Regions from separate parts of the Homo sapiens genome. Here region 2 is linked to region 1. Evidence: promoter capture Hi-C in 16 types of primary human blood cells and fetal thymus (Javierre and others, 2016). All regions are on one chromosome and are shown on one strand. The core of a region is centred on a gene start or on the middle of the fragment in contact, and the rest is flanking DNA. Distances in the headings are between cores, read along the strand shown.

Region 1 (5,513 bases), core at 3,014-5,513:
AGGAGTGGCTGTCTCCCTCATGTTTCTCGTTATTTGTGTCATAGGCATGTATCACCTGAAATTGCCTGAGAGGCTCAACCAACTTTTAGTCACAAGATCTGCGAACACTTCCCTAGTGGGTGCTGAGGTTCTCCAAGGAGCTGCTGGGCCCATTTGCAAACAGATAAGCAAACGGCTGGGTGAGTGCGTCGAGGAGGGCTTCCCGTAAGAAGTTATGCCCCCGGTGAATCTTAAAGGATGCAGCATGCCAGGCAAAATTCCACAGGGCTCCAGAAAGAGGGCAGTGCAGAGGCAAAAGCACAGACAGAAGTTGGCATGTGGGTGGGGAGTGAGGGACATGGCTAGCCTACCACGAAGCTTCAGATCAGGAAGAGATGAGAGGTGAGGCTGGACAGGGTGGCAGAGGGTGTCCTGAAGACAGCAGGGAGCCATGAAAGACATGGAGCAGGAGTGTAGTGAGATTAAACCTGTATAGTAGAGGCAGAGGCCAGCATCAAGGAGACAGCAGTCCTGGCAAGACACAGATAAGGCCAGCACTAGAGAAGAGACAGCCAGCAAGGCTGACAAGTATGTATTAGATAATGCCCATGGGCCAGGCAGAGGTGCTGGGGAGGGAAGAGTTAATGGGACAGAGTCTCTGCCCTCTTGAGTTTCACATCAATGGGAGGAGACATTTAATAAACACATAAAAATGTAAAAATAAGATCATTTCAGATCCTGATCAATGCTAAGGAAGATATGAAATGGAATATTATGGTACAGAAGGATGGAGCTGTGCCTTGGCAAGGGAGGCCTTTGAGGAGGGGTCATCTGAATTGAGATGAGAATGATGATCAGGAGGAAGCCATGTGGGGCTCTGGGGGAAGGGCACTCCAGGCAGAGGGAACAGCAAGTGCAAAGGCCCTGAGGCAGGAAAGTGCTGGAGTGTTTGAGCAACAGGAAGAAAATTGGTGTGGCTGGACATTGATGAGCAAAGTAGACAGTGGGTGATGGGGTCAAGAAATAGGCAGGGGCCAAGCTACAGGGGGGCCTGTAGCTTCCTGACCACAGGGGCACGGGTTTTCTTTTATTTGCGATGGGAAGCCAAGAAGGCGAACGAAGACCAGAGCAGTAGCAGCACAGGGAGAAGTGGTTAAGTTCTGAATAGATCCTGGTGACTGAAATGACAGGAATTACTGATGGGTTGGACAGCAAGTAGAAGTGACTCTTCAGAGGAGTTTTATGGAAGAGAGAAGCAGAAAAATCAGATGGTAATTGGAGAAAGAGGTGGAATTAAGGAAGGATTTTTCAAAAGGGCAGGATTATAGGTTGCTTCTTTTTTTTTTTTTTTTTTTTGAGACGGAGTTTTGCTCTTGTTGCTCAGCCTGGAGTGCAATGGCGCGATCTCAGCTCACCACAGCCTCCGCTTCCTGGGTTCAAGTGATTCTCTTGCCTCAGCCTCCCAAGTAGCTGGGATTACAGGCATACACCACCACGCCCAGCTAATTTTGTATTTTTAGTAGAGATGGTGTTTCTCCATGTTGGTCAGGCTGGTCTCGAAACCCACTTTAGGCAGACCTAAAGTGATCTGCCTGCCTCAGCCTCCCAAAGTGCTGGGATTGCAGGCGTGAGCCACCGCGCCTGGTCTGGCTGCTCCTAACCTGATGGAATGACCCAGTGAAGGAGAAATTGATCATGCAGAGGAAGGGGCACCTGATGGGGCAATGTCCTGGAAGGATGGAGAGGGGACAACTCACAGCACAAGAGTGGGGCTTGGCCTTCGCCTTGGTTCCTATTGCTGCTGTCACAAGAGGCTTAATGCAGCACACATTTATTTTCTCATTCTTCATCACACAGCTCCTGTGGGTTCTCTTATTCCAGCCCTCCTGAGGTAGATCAGCAGGACCTGTTTTCTGAGCACCTGTCAGGACCCCCGGTCCCCAGCCTGCTGATGGCAGCAGGATCTGGTTGAAACAAGGTGTAGTGAAGAAGCTGGCAGACACCAGAAACCAGCAGATGGGAACGAAAGCAACCGCTAGTTGCCCTCACTGCTCACTAACATAGACACTCCCCCTGGCACCATGGTAGTTTACAAATGCCATGGCAGCACGCCATGGCAACAACCTGAAAGTTACAGGGTTCTGGAAACTCACCACCCCTTTTCTAGAAAGTTTGAAATAACCTGCCCCTGAATTTGCATGTAATGAATAGTGGCTGTAAGTGCAGTTGCCAAAAGCCCACACACTACTGCTCTGGGCACACTGCCTGTGGGGTAGCCCTGCTCCCAGAGAGCAGCACCTCTGCTATGCACTGCTGCTTCAATAAAGCGGCTTTCTTCACCACTGGCTCTTTGACTTCTTTCCTGGCCAAAGCCAAGAGCCCTCAGGGGCAAAGCCCTGATTTGGGGGCTCACCTGCCCTGCATCACTTGTAGGTGGAAATCAAGCTGCTGGCAGGGCTGCATTCCTCTCTGGAGGCTCTGGGAGAATCCACTTGCAGGCTCACCCAGGCTGTTTACAGATCCACTTCCTGCATTATCCTGTGCCTCTTGGGCAGATGGGTATGTATTTACCCATATGGGTAAATACACATGGGGAAAAAGCCTTGCCTGATGTTGGGATGGAGGGAAATTTTTATTTTCTTCTTCCAGTTCATCTGAACATTCTAATTTCCCACAACAAAAATCATTTATTTGTTATTTATGTAGTTTTTTAAATTCACAAAACCCATCTATGTTGATCTAGTTTTTTGTTTTAAGTTGTACATGCTGAAAATAAGGAAATCTCAGAGGCTCAAGAGGAAGGAGGGCACAGGCCCCACCAGATCTGGTCACAACACCTGGCCTGGCAGCTCCAGCACCCCCACTCACTCCAGAACCCCTTACCCACCTGCGTGGGGCTCACTGGTGAATGTGTGCAGGGCAGAGGAGGTGGAACATGCCAAGGCTCCATGGGGAGGGAGGGAAGGGCCAGACAGGCTGAGGCTCCTCTCCATGGTCCAGGCTCCGGTCAGAGTCCCCACTGAGCACATACCAGGGGACCCCCAGCAGCAACCAGGCCCCCGAGCAGGTGTGACATCAGTGGGGGAACAGCACCTTCCCCACCCTTCTCTGAGCCCAGCATCAGTGGGTGGAGGAAGCAGAGCTGGGGCCTGGCAGCCTCTCAGGGCCTCCTAGGAGGGTGAACACCCAAATCCTGCCCTACCCAAATCCAGAACCAGGAGGCGGGGAGAGAACAGGCGGCCTCCCAAGGAAGGACTCACCCTGCTTGGCCATGCAGGAGGAGGAAGGCTGGCCTGAGAAGGATGTGAGACCAAAATAAGAACAAGCACACCCCCACCCCCGTAGGGCCGAGGAATATTCCCGAGGGTCCTGAATGTCAACGAAGTGCGTTTAAAGCCTCCGTCAGCCTTCTGTCTTTGGCTTTTCCTGCCAGGCTTCTGTAACTTCTGTGTTTTTACCCTGTTTTATTTATTTTTTAAGACGGAGTCTCGCTCTGTCACCCAGGCTGGAGTGCAATGGCACGGTCTCGGCTCACTGCCACCTCTGCCTCCTGGGTTCAAGCAATTCTCCATCCCAAAATATATTTATCTTTTAAAGGAAGCTTTATGTCACTAACATAAATGGAAAATGGTGTCCCTCCCCTAAGTAGAATGTGCTCTAGAAGAAAATGTACTGCAAATGTTAAAACCATAGGCCAAAATTCTAGCTAGAGATTCACACTTGGTAGAGGCTCTGCTTCCCAGGCCTACAGCTGTTTGTTAGAAAGAGGCATGGAGAAGCACTAGGCAGGAGCTAAAAACACCATGGCACCAAGAAGAGACTCCGTCCTTGAGTATACAGGAGGAGGGAGGAGAGTTAAAAATGAAGTCACTCTCCCCACCATGGTGTTCTCAGCCAGTGGGAGCTGCCCAGCCCACACCTCTGTGAGGCAGGCAGGACCGGTCACTGCTCCCACTTTACAGATGAGGAAAACTGAGATTCGGAGGAACAACCAGCAGAGCCACGTTTCTCAGGGGTCTCCTAGTTCCCACCTTCTGGGAGCAGGTGAGGGGCCACCCTCAGTCCTCCACAGACCTGATTCCAAAGCCCATCAAGGCACTGGCGGCACAGTGGGACCCCCTTCTATAAACCGGGGTTGAGATGTGGTTCTGTGCCCAAGGCGCGGGCCCCTGAGGGCCTCCTGCCTCTGGAAATAGGCCCCAAGGCTGCACTGGGGGGATAAGCCAGGCTATTTTCATCACTTCCTTCCGCCCGCTCCCGCAGCGGCCACCTCAGCTGTATCCCATAGAGTTGCCACCCAGGCCTCAGCCAGGACCTTTCAGGCCAGACAGGAGCACCTGACCAAAGGCTTCACAGGTAAGTGGCCCTCCGTATTACCCAGCATGGCCTCCCACAGGGAGAGAGGAGGTCAGTTCCTGTCCCTTTAACAAGACAGGGTTGGGTGGGACATTCCCTCTGAGACACCATCTCCTTGGCTGAGTCAAGATGAGTGAGTTGATTTGACACTTATTCACTGGAAACCTGCTGTGGGTAGGGGGAGCTCTGCTGGTGGAGGGGAAACGCCTGTGGGGAAGAACCAAACAGAGGGCCACGGTTGCCGAGACCCGAGTGTGAGTCTGGCCTCTGACACCACACCGGTGGCCCTGGGCACATTGCTTTCCCTCTCTGGGCCTCAGTTTCCCCAAGTCAGTGTTAGCCCAGATGAGTGGTTTTCCAGATGGGGTCCCACTGAGTTCCCCTCCCTGCTCCAGCCAGTGTCCCTGTCCTGCTGTCTTCTGCATCTGGGAATCAGGTAACAGCTCACTTAGCTGGTGGGGGGTGCTGGGCGCAGCCTGCAGGGCCCTCCAAGGCTCTTTCCTAGTCTCTGGGGACTGTGGTCCTGGGCTGGGACTCATTTAGCAGCCATCTGCTCCTCTCATCCCCAAGCAGGGGATGGGGTCTCTGCTAAGGGCCAGGAAGTCCCTTCCCCTTCCCAAAAACAAACTTACCCAATCCACAGCCGCCCTCACCGCCCGGCCTTCTACGGTGTCCAGAGACAGTTAGCCAGGCCTGGGCTGGGCACACTCCACCTTCCCTAGTCACCAGCTGGTTTCCCAGAGGAGAAGGCTGAGACCCGAGAAGGGAGGTGAGTGCACCCCGTCCCATGTCAGGCTCCGCTACATCCCCAGTGCTTGCCGTCCCTGAGGATCGGTCCAGGCTGCCAGGCCCTCCCTCACAGCCCCTCTCTCTGCAGCCAGCCTGTCCCATGCCTGCCTGGGGAGCCCTGTTCCTGCTCTGGGCCACAGCAGAGGCCACCAAGGACTGCCCCAGCCCATGTACCTGCCGCGCCCTGGAAACCATGGGGCTGTGGGTGGACTGCAGGGGCCACGGACTCACGGCCCTGCCTGCCCTGCCGGCCCGCACCCGCCACCTTCTGCTGGCCAACAACAGCCTTCAGTCCGTGCCCCCGGGAGCCTTTGACCACCTGCCCCAGCTGCAGACCCTCGATGTGACGCAGAACCCCTGGCACTGTGACTGCAGCCTCACCTATCTGC
Region 2 (5,513 bases), core at 1,483-3,982, 110 kb after region 1:
ATAACAACATATCCCATTTGCTATGTTTTAGGTTTTCCTACATGAGGCCCAGAATTTGGGGGGAAATAACTCCATGTGCACACCAGCCCCCAAACCTCATTTAACAGTGATGCCTTCAAAAATAAATCTTTCCCCCAACCTAACAGTGATGCCTTCGAAAAAAAGTCTTTCCTTATGCTGTTTCATACATATGGTAGAAAATAAAATTGTCAAGATATTTATTGTGTTAACATGTGAGACATACAATTTGCTCAGTAAAAATAGCACATGAAAAAATATTATAAGCTTATATTCATAAAGAAATGGGTATGTTATTACCTCTTTTTCTTGCTTGCTCAGGACTATTAATTTGACAAGGTTGGAATGTGCACAGCACAGCTGAGACACCACCATTTTAACACTGAATCACTATACCATGAACTGACAGAACCCTGCATGAAGGATGAAAAACTCATACCCAAAGTCAAGAATCACACAGCAGCATGGAGGGGGAAAATGAACTATATGATGCTAACCGCATTTAATTTCGAAGTGGGGGGAAACAGGGCATGGGGAGTGAATAATGGTTGAAGTTCCAGGCTCTAACTGTACATCCTTAAGTAAATTAAGTTTAACTCATCTATTAAAAAGTGAGTTAAAACAGATGAGTTTTAAGGTCCATCTCAACTCTAAATGAGACACTAGCAAAAACAAGGAATCCACCACTTCAGATCCTTATGAAACCCAGGAAAAGGTGGGGCACAGTGGCTCACCTGAGGGCAACAGTTGGAGACCAGCCTGACCAACACAGTGAAACCCCATCTCTACTAAAAATAACAAAAATTAGCTGGGTGTGGTGGCGGACACCTGTAATCCCAGCTATTTGGGAGGCTGAGGCAGGAGAATTACTTGAACGGGGTGTGGGGGTGGGGGGTGGAGGTTGCAGTGAGCTGAGATTGCACCATTGCACTCTAGCCTGGGCAACAGAGCGAGACTGTCTCAAAAAAAAAAAAAAAAAAAAAAAAGGCCCAGGAAAAACACAAAAATAGCAATGGTATTAAAACTGTTCAGAATCGGCCAGACACGGTGGCTCGCACCTGTAACACTAGCACTTTGGGGGGCGGGGCAGGTGGATCACCTGAGGTCAGGAGTTGGAGACCAGCCCGACCAACATGATGAAACCCAGTCTCTACTAAAAATACAAAAAATAGGCCGGGCGCGGTGGCTCACGCCTGTGATCCCAGCACTTTGGGAGGCCAAGGCGGGCGGATCACGAGGTCAGGAGATTGAGACCATCCTGGCTAACACCGTGAAACCCCGTCTTTACTAAAAATACAAAAAAAAAAAATTAGCTGGGCGCGGTGGCGGGTACCTGTAGCCCCAGCTACTCAGGAGGCTGAGGCAGGAGAATGGCACGAACCCAGGAGGCGGAGCTTGCAGTGAGCCGAGATCGCACCACTACACTCCAGCCTGGGCAACAGAGCGACACTCTGTCTCAAAAAAAAATAAAAAAATAAAATAAAAATAAAAATACAAAAAATTAGCGGGGGGTGGTGGCGGGTGCCTGTAATCCCAGCTACTCAGGAGGCTGAGGCAGGAGAATTGCTTGAACCCGGGAGGTGGAGGTTGCAGTGAGCCAAGCCTGCACTCCAGCCTGGGCGACAAGAGTGAGACTCCGTCTCCAAAACAAAACAAAACCACCACCACCAAAAAACCTGTTCAGACTGAACACAGAACTCAAGGGCATTATTATAACAGATTACAAAGTGAATTTTCTATAGCTTTGCAAAAGTATCTAAATCCCATACATCCTTTTAACAGCAATTTTCATTATTGAAGACATGACTTAAGTACAAAAAGAAAAGTCCAAACTGTCAGCTTTCAGTCCTCCACATTCCCCTCTTTAATATGGTATTTTGCACTATATACATTAATGAAAATTTGAAACAAACAAAAAGAACTTTAGTCAAACTCCCCTTCCTCCTCCAGCTTTATTGGAATAGTTTAAAATTACATTTCTATTTTCTAGGACTTCAGTTGCTCTTTCCATCTGACTTTTAAAAACTGATTACAGCAAATGAAACACAGTTGTCTAAGTGATATAGTATACAAAAATAACATCTTGATTTCTGTGAAAATGCATTTCTCTGCAATTCCTGAATAGCTCCAAATTATGCTAACTCTGAGCATTGATGTTTACTCTGGGTTTTAGATTTAGTCTTTGAAAATAATGTGTTCTAAACCTTTGCCATCACCATCTATGTGTCCAACATCAACACTGTGATGAAGTTGTTCCTGTTTAGGCTTTTATTCCGATTTCTCTCGAACAGCCATTAACACGCATGTTTATCTTTTTGTTTACTCCCACTCAACTGTATGTTCTATGTAGGGCCTGATACAGATGTTACTTGATGTTATTTAATAGCTACTGAGGTCAGACAATCCAAGACCATCATTATACTAAAATTAAAGTTATTTATGGAAGTTCATAGACACTTCCAGAATTGGTTTTACCTCCTACATGGGAACATGTTCAAGGAACCCAGGACGGGCTTACTGGTCTGACTCAACTCTTCCCATTCATCAATCCCTATTCACCAGTGGCACGGAAAGGGGGTTCTTTAACAAAGCATTATACATAACACCTCTACCAAACTAAACATAAACTTTTTTTGTAGTTAAATGCAGAAAGTCGGTTTTTTTCCACCCCTTTCCTCCTTTTACACGGCAAGTAAAGCTCACTGGCCTGGGAGTTGCCTCTATCTGCCAACCTTTGGCCAGTGAAGAGGATTCAGAGAAAATAATACAACCATCAATCAGAAAAAGGAGGGGCGACAAAGGAAAATAATTAGGCTGTAGCCTCAATTGTGCATTCCCGTGCAAGGTGCCCTGACTCGCCACAGCGGTAACAGTTGACTTCACTTGTCTTGCTGCAGTTGATGGCTACATGACCAGTTTCACCACACCTAAAAAAGAAATTAAAAGTTTTCACAATGGGCCTCAGAAAAAAACTGTCTACCAAAGCAACAGTCACCATGCAGAACAAAACGCCTGATCTTTGTTTTCATGCAATTAACCCCTAAGGTTTCACAGATATGTACACAACAACATTTATCAAATTATACACTTACATGTCACAAACAGGCAAAGATTTCTGGTTACATGATAAAAGATTTATGTATATTACAGAGCTTTCTATGAAGTCTCTGGAAGTTTCAAATTATAACACTCTTACTTTTATATATTAAAAAAGTCCAGTTGTGAAAACTGCCCAGGTACCATAAGCCACAGGATATCAGGGCAGAATACAGAATTATATACAGATAGACTGCCAGTTACATATGCTGAAAATTGGTCTTATCTGGTCACAGCTAAGTTTCACTGAATTTACTAAGGCCCTTCCATTTATAGCTAATTCATCTCTGGAAGAATCTCTGCAATGAGTTTTCTTCTAACAACATTCTGACACCTTACCTATAGCACTTCACTTTGGTGCAGTCTTTTTGAATGTGTCCGAATTCTCCACAAGAATAGCATTTCTGCTCATCTGCATGGTCGCAGTCACGAGCCAGATGGCCTGGTTTGCCACAGTTGTAGCAGCATTGCTCTCGCTCTCTCTTGGGCTCCTTGCAGTCCTTGGCAATGTGGCCACCTCTACCGCAGTTATAGCAGGCTTCAACAATAAGGAAAAGAAACAGGCCAAGACTATAAAACCTTTACAAAGTGTTACGTTTTAAATTATACAATACAAAACCTCAAAGGTGGAAATGCTATACACAGTTGCATGTGCTCACCTCTCCAAGCTCTAGAGGGGTATGAAAAGGAAGTGTTAAATACTTACCATCCTCCTGAAGATCACAATCCTTGGCAAGATGACCAGACTCACCACAGCGATAACAAATGTCTGGAAGAGACGAGGAAACAAACTGGAAACCTGTTTTGAGCAAAAACAAAGAATTCGGCTAGTCAGACCAGTCTTGATACTAACAAATACTGAAGTACTTCAAATTTTTCTATTCGACAAAATACCTCTATCCGAGGTAAAACCACCTCTGCCACGGCTTCTCATTCCACGACCACGGCCTCCACCAGTAGGACATTCCCGGGCCCAGTGGCCAGATCGTCCACACTTGAAGCACTCATTGCTGCTCATGGCTGCAGTCAGATCTTTGAAATATTAAAAGTAACAGCATTAAACCACTGAAAGTTCTTTTAACTTTTATTCTCTATTAAATGTATTTTTGGAAAATTATTCTGGGGAAAAAAGCTAGCTAATATATTGGTTAAAAAAATAGCTGGGCATGGTGGCTCACGCCAGTAATCCCATCACTTTGGGAGGCCGAGGTGGGTGGATCATGAGATCGAGACCATCTTGGCTAACATGGTGAAACCCCGTCTCTACGAAAAATACAAAAAATTAGCCCGGTGAAGTGGCAGGCGCCTGTAATCCCAGCTACTTGGGAGGCTGAGGCAGGAGAATGGTGTGAACCCAGGAGGCGGAGCTTACAGTGAGCTGAGATGGTGCCACTGTACTCCAGCCTGGGCAACATTGAGACTCTGTCTCAAAAAAATAAAATAATCACACAACTACATGATTGGGTATTATAGACTTATTATAATATACACCTTGATAAAAGTGATGGAATTTACAGGGTTAGGGTCAATGAAAATCCATTAAGAGAAATAATTGGTAGTGGCTGGGCACGGTGGCTCATGCCTGTAATCCTAGCACTTTGGGAGGCTGAAGCGGGTGGACCATCTGAGGTCAGGAGTTTGAGACCAGTCTGGCCAACATGGCGAAACCCCGTCTCTACTAAAAATACAAAAAACAGCCGGGCATGGCGGCATGCGCCTGTAATCCCAGCTACTCAGGAGGCTGAGGCAGAAGAATCGCTTGAACCCGGGGGGTGGAGGTTGCAGTGAGCCGAGATCATACCACTGCACTCCAGCCTAGGGGACAAAGTGAGACAGACAGGCAGGCAGGCAGGCAGGCAGGCAGGCAGACAGGCAGACAGGCAGCCAGGCAGGCAGGCAGGCAGGCAGGCAGGCAGGCAGACAGACAGACAGACAGACAGACAGACAGACAGACAGACACACACACACACACACACACACACACACACACACACTGGCAGTAATACTCATTCACTCATTCCAAGTCCAACTTAATGGACACATTTGCATGGTTATAAGGCCTATATAAGCTTTATTTTGGGCAAATAGAAGTCATTTATTTACTCACATCAAAAAATTGGAATAACCCAAACCAATGAAGCTGTAAAATGGATTCTCGGAGTGAGGAGTCAGTGAAGGAAAATACTCTCTTAACCTTAGCACCTGACGTAGTACCTAGTTATACTGCAGCACTTGCCTGGTGACTGAGATATTCCTTAGAACAGATATGTTAAAACAAATGCAAGATACAAATCTTATCTCTAGATGGTACAAGTACAGTAGGCCCTCTATATCCATGGGTTCTGCATCCATGGCTTCAACCAACCTTGGAATAAAAATATTCAGTGGAAAAGTTGCAT

Evidence for each region. The method cuts DNA at HindIII sites, captures the fragments that hold promoters and counts their contacts. A CHiCAGO score of 5 or more calls a contact.
Region 2: a fragment that was not itself captured here is called in contact with the fragment with the promoter of GP9 in region 1 in 3 of 17 cell types (non-activated CD4 T cells, naive CD8 T cells and naive CD4 T cells); the score reaches 6.0 in non-activated CD4 T cells.

The regions. Positions count from the first base shown.
Region 1 is chr3:129,056,516-129,062,028 of GRCh38, forward strand. GP9 (glycoprotein IX platelet) reads left to right here and starts at 4,264. Exons shown (of 3, transcript NM_000174.5): 1 at 4,264-4,335; 2 at 4,979-5,104; 3 at 5,213-5,513. The coding sequence starts at 5,225. The HindIII fragment of the contact is 4,040 bases long and covers 3,579-5,513 here.
Region 2 is chr3:129,167,626-129,173,138 of GRCh38, forward strand. It overlaps CNBP (CCHC-type zinc finger nucleic acid binding protein), which reads right to left. Exons shown (of 5, transcript NM_003418.5): 2 at 4,009-4,146; 3 at 3,821-3,913; 4 at 3,454-3,652; 5 at 202-2,945. The coding sequence starts at 4,132. The coding sequence ends at 2,828. Among named protein-coding and RNA genes, the nearest start is that of ISY1-RAB43, 9.3 kb to the left of the region's middle. The HindIII fragment of the contact is 4,898 bases long and covers 284-5,181 here.